Regions from separate parts of the Homo sapiens genome. Here all the other regions are linked to region 2. Evidence: promoter capture Hi-C in 16 types of primary human blood cells and fetal thymus (Javierre and others, 2016). All regions are on one chromosome and are shown on one strand. Each heading gives the region's core, a stretch centred on a gene start or on the middle of the fragment in contact. The rest is flanking DNA. Distances are from core to core; before and after follow the strand shown.

The links. The method cuts DNA at HindIII sites, captures the fragments that hold promoters and counts their contacts. A CHiCAGO score of 5 or more calls a contact.
Region 1: the fragment with the promoter of TAOK3 here is called in contact with a fragment that was not itself captured in region 2 in 1 of 17 cell types (total CD4 T cells); the score reaches 10.6 in total CD4 T cells.
Region 3: a contact is called between the fragment with the promoter of WSB2 here and a fragment that was not itself captured in region 2, in 2 of 17 cell types (M2 macrophages and total CD4 T cells). The highest score is 6.5, in M2 macrophages.

The regions. Positions count from the first base shown.
Region 1 is chr12:118,371,507-118,374,227 of GRCh38, forward strand. It overlaps TAOK3 (TAO kinase 3), which reads right to left and starts at 1,401. Exons shown (of 21, transcript NM_016281.4): 1 at 1,142-1,401. RefSeq lists silencers at 241-330, 431-490, 1,275-1,524 and an enhancer at 1,845-1,894. The HindIII fragment of the contact is 12,374 bases long and covers 1-2,093 here.
Region 2 is chr12:124,919,800-124,922,499 of GRCh38, forward strand. It overlaps TRA-TGC3-2 (tRNA-Ala (anticodon TGC) 3-2), which reads right to left and starts at 2,027; the gene lies at 1,956-2,027. RefSeq lists enhancers at 1,233-1,422, 1,258-1,936, 1,503-1,822 and a cis regulatory region at 1,478-1,648. The HindIII fragment of the contact is 6,001 bases long and covers 1-2,700 here.
Region 3 is chr12:118,059,862-118,062,561 of GRCh38, forward strand. It overlaps WSB2 (WD repeat and SOCS box containing 2), which reads right to left and starts at 1,318. Exons shown (of 9, transcript NM_018639.5): 1 at 1,175-1,318. The coding sequence starts at 1,187. It overlaps LOC124903030 (a long non-coding RNA gene), which reads left to right and starts at 1,599. Exons shown (of 2, transcript XR_007063479.1): 1 at 1,599-1,819. RefSeq lists a silencer at 728-777. The HindIII fragment of the contact is 4,146 bases long and covers 122-2,700 here.

The DNA.
Region 1 (2,721 bases), core at 151-2,650, 6.5 Mb before region 2:
TCATGACATAATCCGGCTCCGGAGTCCCCCGGAGTCCCGGGGGCTCACACTCCACCCTCAGGGAGGTCGCTGATGCCAGACCCTGGGAGCACCTCCCCGCTCCACTCGTCTGCGCTGCAGCCGGTTCCTATTTGCCCGACGCCGCGACTGCGACCCAGGCTCCCCGCCGCAGCCGTTCTTGGGGGGGCTCCCGCAACTCAGCGGGCGCGACCCCCCGCCCGCTCCCTCGCTGCTCACGCCGGGCCCCCGCTATGTGACTGGGGGCCCGACCCGCACCCATGGGGCACCGCTCCTCCCTCGGGGTCCGCGCCTGCACCCGACGCTCAAAGCCCCTCTCGGAGTCCCACGCTCGCATGCGCTGTCCCGAGCCCTCTGGGGGTCCCCTCCTCTCACCCCGCTGTCCTGGCCCCTCTCGGGGTCACCCTGCTCCCACCCGCTGTCCCGGCCTCTCTCTAGGTGTCCTGCTCTCAGCCCCGCTGTCTCAGCCCAGCCCCCTTCCGGGACCCCTCCTCTTCTCCCACTGTCTTGGCCCTTCCTGGGGTCTTCTCACACTCTGTTCTAAGCCCTCTGGGGATCCCCTGTCTTCACATCCCCTGACCGGTCCCCTCTCTTTACTCTGTCCTGGATTCTCTCTGGGTCCCCTCCCCTCACCTCGGGGTCTCCTCTCCCCGGGTGCTGTCCCAGCCCCTCTCGGGGTCCCCATCTCTCAGACTCTCAGTGCCGGCCCCTCTCGGGGACCCTTCCCCTCTCCCCGCTGTCCCTGACCTTTTCTGGGACCTGGTCCTTCAGGGGACCCCCTCCCCTCATCCCCCTATCCTAGTGCCTCATGAGGCACCCACCCCTCACCCCACTACCCCAGCCCCTCTCCGGGTCCCTTCCTCTCACGCGCACTGTCCCGGCCCCTCTTGGAGACCCCTCCCCTCAGACTTTCAGTCTTGGACCCTCTCGGAGTCCTCTCCACTCAGAGCCACTGCCTCGGTCCCTCTCGGAGTCCCCTCTCCTCACCCGCTGTCCCGGTCCCTCCCGGGGTCTCCTCTCCACAGTCTGCACTGTCGAGCCCGCTCCCGCAACTCCCCTCACTCTGCCTGGGGTCCCGCCGCCTCGGCTCCCACTGTCATGCCCCGCGCCCCGGTGCTCTCACCTCAGACCTGCTGTCACCACCCCCGGGCCCGGCGCCGCCGCCGCCGCTTCCTCTCCCACACTTGTTCCTGAGTCGCTCTCCTGTGGCTTGTTCCCCGGCGGATCCTTGGGTCCGGTCGCTGAGTGCCGGATCCGGCTGTGCGCAGCCTCTGCTCGCGGTCTCGGCGTTGCGTCCCACTCTCCACGCAGGACCCCGCCGCCCGGCGCCACAAGGACCCTCCCGCGGCCGCCGCCGCTGCTGCTGTCCGAGGTGCGGCTCCTGCCAGGGGTGGCCAATCGCACCGGACTGCGCCGAGCACGCCCCGCCCCACCGTCTCAGTCCGCCCGCCCCCTGCCCCGGACCACGCCCCAAGCTCGGCTCCAATAGGCTCTCTACTGACCTTCCCTGATCGCGGGGCACAGGGCCGGGGCCGTATATAGGTATTTGATTGATGGAGCCTGGGAAGCCGAGCGGTCGATGGAACCCGAGGATTGGCGGAGTTGTCGATGGGCGGGACAGGGCAGGGCGGGGTCTCCTCAGACGCGGAAGACCTTGCAACTTTAGTAACCTACGGGCCCGCCTGGGGTGCGGTCAGTCTTGTTTGTGCTGCTCTCCGGTCAAAGTTCATGGCGCTTCTCCCCACGCCTTTACTTTTCTTGGGAGATTCCCAGGGACCACCATGTTAGAGCCTTTGGGGAGGACCCCAGTCTCTCGCTAGACCTTGCACAGCTTTCTTAGTAATTCTGCCATGAACTAATATAGCATTAATTTGCCCAGGATTTGTAAAAATTTCCTGGATTTAAACCATTTCTTTTTAAAATCTCTTGCAAGGGAGTTGCCTCTCCTTGAATTGAGTTCAGCAGCCGTCAGTTTGATACCGTTGGGGGAAAAAAAATCTATATACAGTACTAGGTGCATACTTTGCCCAACTAAGCGTTCAATGCGGGGCACATTTTGATAGGTGCAAGGACAAAGCTTTAGAAATTTTCAGTTTGTAGGTTTTTATGACAGTAGGAAGACTGTGGTAGGGGAACCCTATTATTAGCTTAACAAGGTTTCAGCAAAGCTATTCAATATAACCTTTTTCCAGGGCCACAGGTTTTAATGATTCTATGTGAACGTGTGGCCAAAGGATAACGAGCTTTGACCCAGGTTTAACATGTGATAATCAGAGACTCCTCTTGATCCACGCTAAAGGATAGTGCCTGCCAGGGGTGAAAGTGCATCATGCTACTAAGACCCATTTGTGTTATTTTTGTGAAACTGGATATGCTGATCAAATCAACACCGGAAACAGAAAACTGCTTTCCTTACTCTTAACGCCAAAAGTAAGTTTATGGACTTTAGAATTTAGCATTTTATGAAGAAATTGTCTCAGGAACACATTTTGATCCTAAGTTTTGTCAGATGTATACAGGCCTTAGTTCTCAGAGAACCCTCGATTGTTAACTTTTTAACTCCAGCTGACAAAATGTGTTTGTGTTCTAAACAGTATACATGTTTCTTCTAGTGTTTTAAGAATCATACGCCATTCATCACCTGAGGTCAAGGGTTCCAGACCTGCCTGGCCAACATGGTGAAATCCCGTCTGTACGAAAAAT
Region 2 (2,700 bases), core at 144-2,643:
GCAAAGGGACAGCTTCGACTCCCTGTGATTTCATCTCCGACCCAACCAATCAGTACTCCCGATTTCCCGACCTCCCTACACACCAAATTATCCTTCAAAACTCCAATCCCTGAGTTTTCAGGGAGACTGATTTGAGTAATAGTAAAACTCCCGTCTCCCACACTGCCAGCTGTGTGTGAATTAAACGTTCTCTATTATGGCAGGGCGAGGTGGCTTGCGCCTGTAATCCCAGCACTTCGGGAGGCTGAGGTGGGCGGATCACAGTTTCCCTGTCCTAATAAATGGGCTCTGTCTAGGCAGCGGGCAAGGAGAAACTGTTGGGCAGTTACAGAAGCATGTAAGTTTTGTGTTAGGCCTGATGACTTCAGAAATTATCTTCAATGATTTTCCCCTAAAACCTTGTTGACATTTAGGGAGAAATAACCTTTCCTGAAGCTCATTAGAAACAAGCTGTCACCAATGCGTCACCACCTAACTGGTGAGTCAGTTCGCAAGTTTCATTTTCTTCATCTCAAAAATGAAAGCTCTAGATCTAGGATTAGACGCTTTTACCATTTAAAACATGAAGTCAAGTCAAATGAAAGAAAGGGGCTGACAGGTGAGGAATTCATTATAATTGCAAAGAACTGTACCACAGAATGCAGCCGAATCCCTTCTTTCATTCTTATTATTATTTAGAGAGCTGGGAACTGGTTAAACTTTAAAAAATATAATTTATTTTTATGTATTTATTTTTGCCTAAAGATCATTCATGCAAGTAAATCAATCTCCCCTCCCCTCCCCTTCCCCTTTCCCTCCCCTTCCCCTTCCTTTCCTTTCCTTTCCTTTCCGAGCCAAGGTCTCCCTTTGTTGCCCAGGCTGCTTTCAAACTCCTGGCCTCAAGCAATTCTCCTGCCTCATGCCTCCCAAAGTGCTGGGATTACAGGCCTGAGCCACCATCTTTTGCTTTCAGTGATAAAACACAGAAACACAGTGGAGGTGAAAGCAACTCCATCTTGGTTGCTAATCCACCAAGATAACTTCCGATTAATGCCTCTTCCAGGAAGGTCTCTAAGATTTCTACTTTACTGTTACCATAAATTCTGCCCTTAGATCAGAACAACCTAGATCATAAATCCTTCCCTTATGCGGATTCACATAACATTCTTGCCTTGCTTGAGGGGTCAACTTCAATTGTCCTACATATATTCCTTCCCTATGGTATGGAAGCCCTGGGCCGGGGGTTATGGCGCAGCAAACCTTATATCCTCTGATGACCACCCTGAGACTATGGCTTCTGTTGGTAAGTCCCTAATAAATGTTTTTTCCTGAGAAACTGGGTTTGTCAACCCCTTTCTTTGGCCTCTCAGCTCCCTTGGCCTTTGGGGTAGGTTTGCATAGGCCTGCTCACCCCGGAACACAGTGTATGAATATAAATGTAAATTGCACTTGCATTACAGCCGTGGAGACGTGTTGCTGAGGAAGCAGAGAGCAAAGCCCCGCTGGGATGTGAGTTTGCTTCTGGGTTCCTCCCATGCAAATGAGGTGGTTCGTGGCAGTGCAGAGGAGGAGTGAGATGGCAAACAGGGGGGCCCAGACCTTCCAGCAACTTACACACTTGCCCTCTGATGGCCAAGAATGCGTCAACAGCCCTCGAGGCCAGTGCAGTACAATCATGGTGGCACGAGATGTGGTGTACACTCCCCAAATGATCATCCTGCTCACTTTTGCTGTGGTTTCAGTCATCAAGTCAGGTTTTGCCTTAACACTTTTCTGCTGATTACTCCCATCAGCCTCTTCTAACTCATGTGCATTTGAAACATTAGAGATTTCAGAATGGGAAGATCACACCTGGTGTGAGAATCTGAGCTCCAAGTAGTGCCTGGAATCACAATGCTTATGATAATCACATCCATGGCACTTTAATGATAAAGAACCACGGACCAAAACGAATACAGAAAGCAACAAAACTACAATGGAGATGCCGGGGATCGAACCCGGGGCCTCATACATGCAAAGCATGCGCTCTACCACTGAGCTACATCCCCCTCCCTTTCCTGTACTTGCTTTTGGAAGTCCTTGCTATACTCTATTCTTAAAGGCGTTTTTCCTGTTTCCACGTGTTTCATTTTTATTTTTGGTTTTTATTATTGTTTGGACGCATAACAATTGTGCACATTTATGAGGTGTGGTGTGATGTTGTGATCTATGTACACAATTTGTAATGTTCAAATCAGGGCAATGACCACATCCATCCCTTCAAACATGTATCATTTCTCTGTGCTGGGAGACATTAAAAATCCACGCTTCCAGCTATTTGAAAACGTACAATAAGTTGTTGTATTCACTCTATAGGGACACTGGAACTTATTCCTCCTATTCAGCTGTACTTTTGTATCCAGTAACCCCCCTTTGGCTATCCCACCTCCCCCCACCTTCACTACCTGCAGTAACCACTATTCTCTCTGTGAGACCAACTATTTCAGCTTCCGCACGTGAGTGAGATCATGCAGTATTTATCTTTCTGTGCCCGGTTTATTTCACTTTATGTAATGTCGCCCAAACTTAGCCATGTTTTTATTTTTGTTTCGTAGAGGAAAAATGACAGGATTTCATTTTGTTTTGTATTTTTTTAAGGTCGAATAGTATTCTATTGCGTATGTACACATTTTCTCTATCCATGTATCTGTTGACGGACACATCTAGGCACTTATGAATAAA
Region 3 (2,700 bases), core at 68-2,567, 6.9 Mb before region 2:
AAACAAAGAAATGTCATTTCCTAAATTAAAAAGTAACACCACCCCAGGGAATACCCAGATTTCAACCTTCCCACCCACAGTAACAAGCCATCAGCAATCAGAACCCTCCAGACCAGGATGAAGCTTGAACTTGGCTGCAAGATTACCATGAAGTTCTGGAACAAATTCTGAGCCCTAGGCCTTGAACCTGCTCTGAAAATTTCTCCTAAGGAAATTACATTTAAACTCGGGTCCTTCAAGACCTGGGACTCCCGGAATCAATTCTAAATCTATCCCAAGTGGGGTTCCGAGGGAAGGTCGTTGGAGGGGAGAGGGCCAAGGCGTGCATGCGTCTTGGGGTTTTTTTCCCCTTGCATAAGAGACACACCTTTCCCACTGAGATTTTATGTTCATCTGGGCTGGCTTGAGGTATATCCAATATCCTCTGACTTCCACGCTGTCTTCTGATGGGGATGGCAGTTAACAAGAATAGAGGCAAGGTCCCCACCCATCAGTGTATCCTAAATTTGCCTGATCATACATGTCACCAGGGATCAGCGTCTCCAGTCCCGCCCCACCTCCACTGACTTAATCTCCAGTGGGAGAGGCTGGGAATAGATTGTTTCAATAGGGAACCCAGACCCCAGACCCCATTTTTACCGGGTCCCAGCCACCCTCCGAGGAAGGTACTAGGATTATCCCATTTTGCAGATCAAAACTGAGACGTGGGTGGCGGTGGTTCAGTGGCTTGTCCACTGTCACGATCACACAGCTTGTGAGGGACAGAGGTGACTCCCATCCAGACATGCAAGTGCGTCCCCTGGCACCTGGGTACCCAGGGGCACCCACCCCCTTGGGGATCTCCGTTTTAGGGCTTGGTGCCCCCCGCCCCGAGTCCCACCCGGGAGCCCCCTCTGTCCCGGTCGGGGGATCTCCTCCCGCAGAAGCCCGATCTTCCCGATCCTGTCGCCGGCGGGAGTCAGGGTGGCGGCCACTGACAACGAAAGTGAAACAAAGCTGGTCGCCGGGCGCGCACCCCCGCCGGCCCCGCGCGGACCTCCCAGGCCGGACGCCCCCGCCGCGTCCAGCCCCCGCCCCACCCCGCCCAGCCCGCCCCGGGGTCGCCTCCCCCCTCCCCGGGGAGAACGGGCCAGGGCCCCGCCGGGCGGGAACGGGCGCGCCCGGCCCCACTCACCTCCGGCCTCCATGGAGGACGCGAGCGGCCCCCGCGGCAGGCGGCGGGCGCCTCAGCCCCCCGGGCCGCGGGCCCTCATGCCGCCCCCGCGCCGCCCGCCCCGGCCAGGCCGCCGCCGCCGCCCGGAGAGGCCATCAGCTGCTTCCCGTCACATGGCGGTGGGCGCGGGCGGAGACGCGCGGGGGCGGGGCGCAGGGGAAACGGAGGGGGGGTGCGGACGGGATAAAAACGGTGGGGGGCAGCTGAGGGAAAAGATGGAAAATCGGGGAGGCGGTACGCTGACGGGATAAAAGCTGAGGGGTTGCTCAGGGGAAACGGGGGCGGGGAAGACGCGCGAACCAGATAAAAATGGGGCAGGGGTGGGGGGAGCTGAGCGGAAACGGGGTGGGGCGCGAACGGGATAAAACCCAGGGGTTGTGCGGGGTCCTGAGGGGAACCAGCGCCGGATAAAAACGGGGAAGGGAGGGAGGTGAACAGAGCTGAGGGAAACCGGGAAAAGGGGAGCGATAGAAACCGGAGTAGGGGAAGCCGGGCTCAGGGGAAAAGGGGGTGTTGGAGAGTGGTAGAGCCGGGCTGAGAGAAAAACCAAGCAGGGGAAGCGGCGATCCGGGGAGAACGGAGAGAGGGAGACCGAGGGCTGTGGGGGTAAGGGGAACCAAAGGGGCTGAAGCGAAATCGAGGGGAGGGGCAGGTGAAAATGGAGCCATGCGAAGGCCGATGAGGGGGGAAACGGGTAAAAATGGGGGCGGGAGAAATAGGTTGGAGGGAATACTGGCCGAGAAGAAACCTGGGGAGAGCTGGGCTTAGGGGAAAATGGGGAGGGGGTGGAAGGAAGGTGTAATAACCGGGTGCTGGGGAGGACGTAAGAATTGGGGGGTGCGGCGAGGGTCAAGGCTAGGGTAAAACAAGGGGGGCTACTCAATGGCTCCGGTAATGGGAGAGGGAAGTGAGGAGAACACGGGGCGGTGGGGAGAGGAGGGCAGGGTGAAAACCGGAGTGGGGGTGGGAACGAGATAAAAAACGGGGCAGGAGCGATTCGGAAGAAGACTGTCCCCTTACCTACCTACGGCGACAGCCTCGCCTGTCCCCGTCCCCCTGAGAAACCTGCTCTCCCTGTCTACCCGCATAGCCTCAAGAAATGGCTCGCTTGGGTCAGACGCCCCCTTTTTAACATTCCAGGGCCAGGGCAGGAGTCATCATGGAGGCTTTTCATGCCTGAAAGACCCCATTTCTTAGTTGTCCGGTCCCCAGTAGTATCAGTGGCTTGGGGATTTCTTACTGAGCTCAGCTCATTGTCCCCAAAATGCCTCCCCTTACCCCCAACTCGAGCGCTTCCCTTTCCTGCTTTGGGCCCAAGCTCTTCCCGCGGTTCTTGGTGTCAGCTTCATTCAAGTCACTCTCCCGCCTCTCATTCCTTTCTCCCCGCCTTTCTTCGCTTCCCTCCAAGTGCCCTCTCCATTTGCCGGTCACTGGTCCCAGAGCTCCGGATCGCAGTGGTTCCATTTTAAATTTCTTTGCTTCCTAAC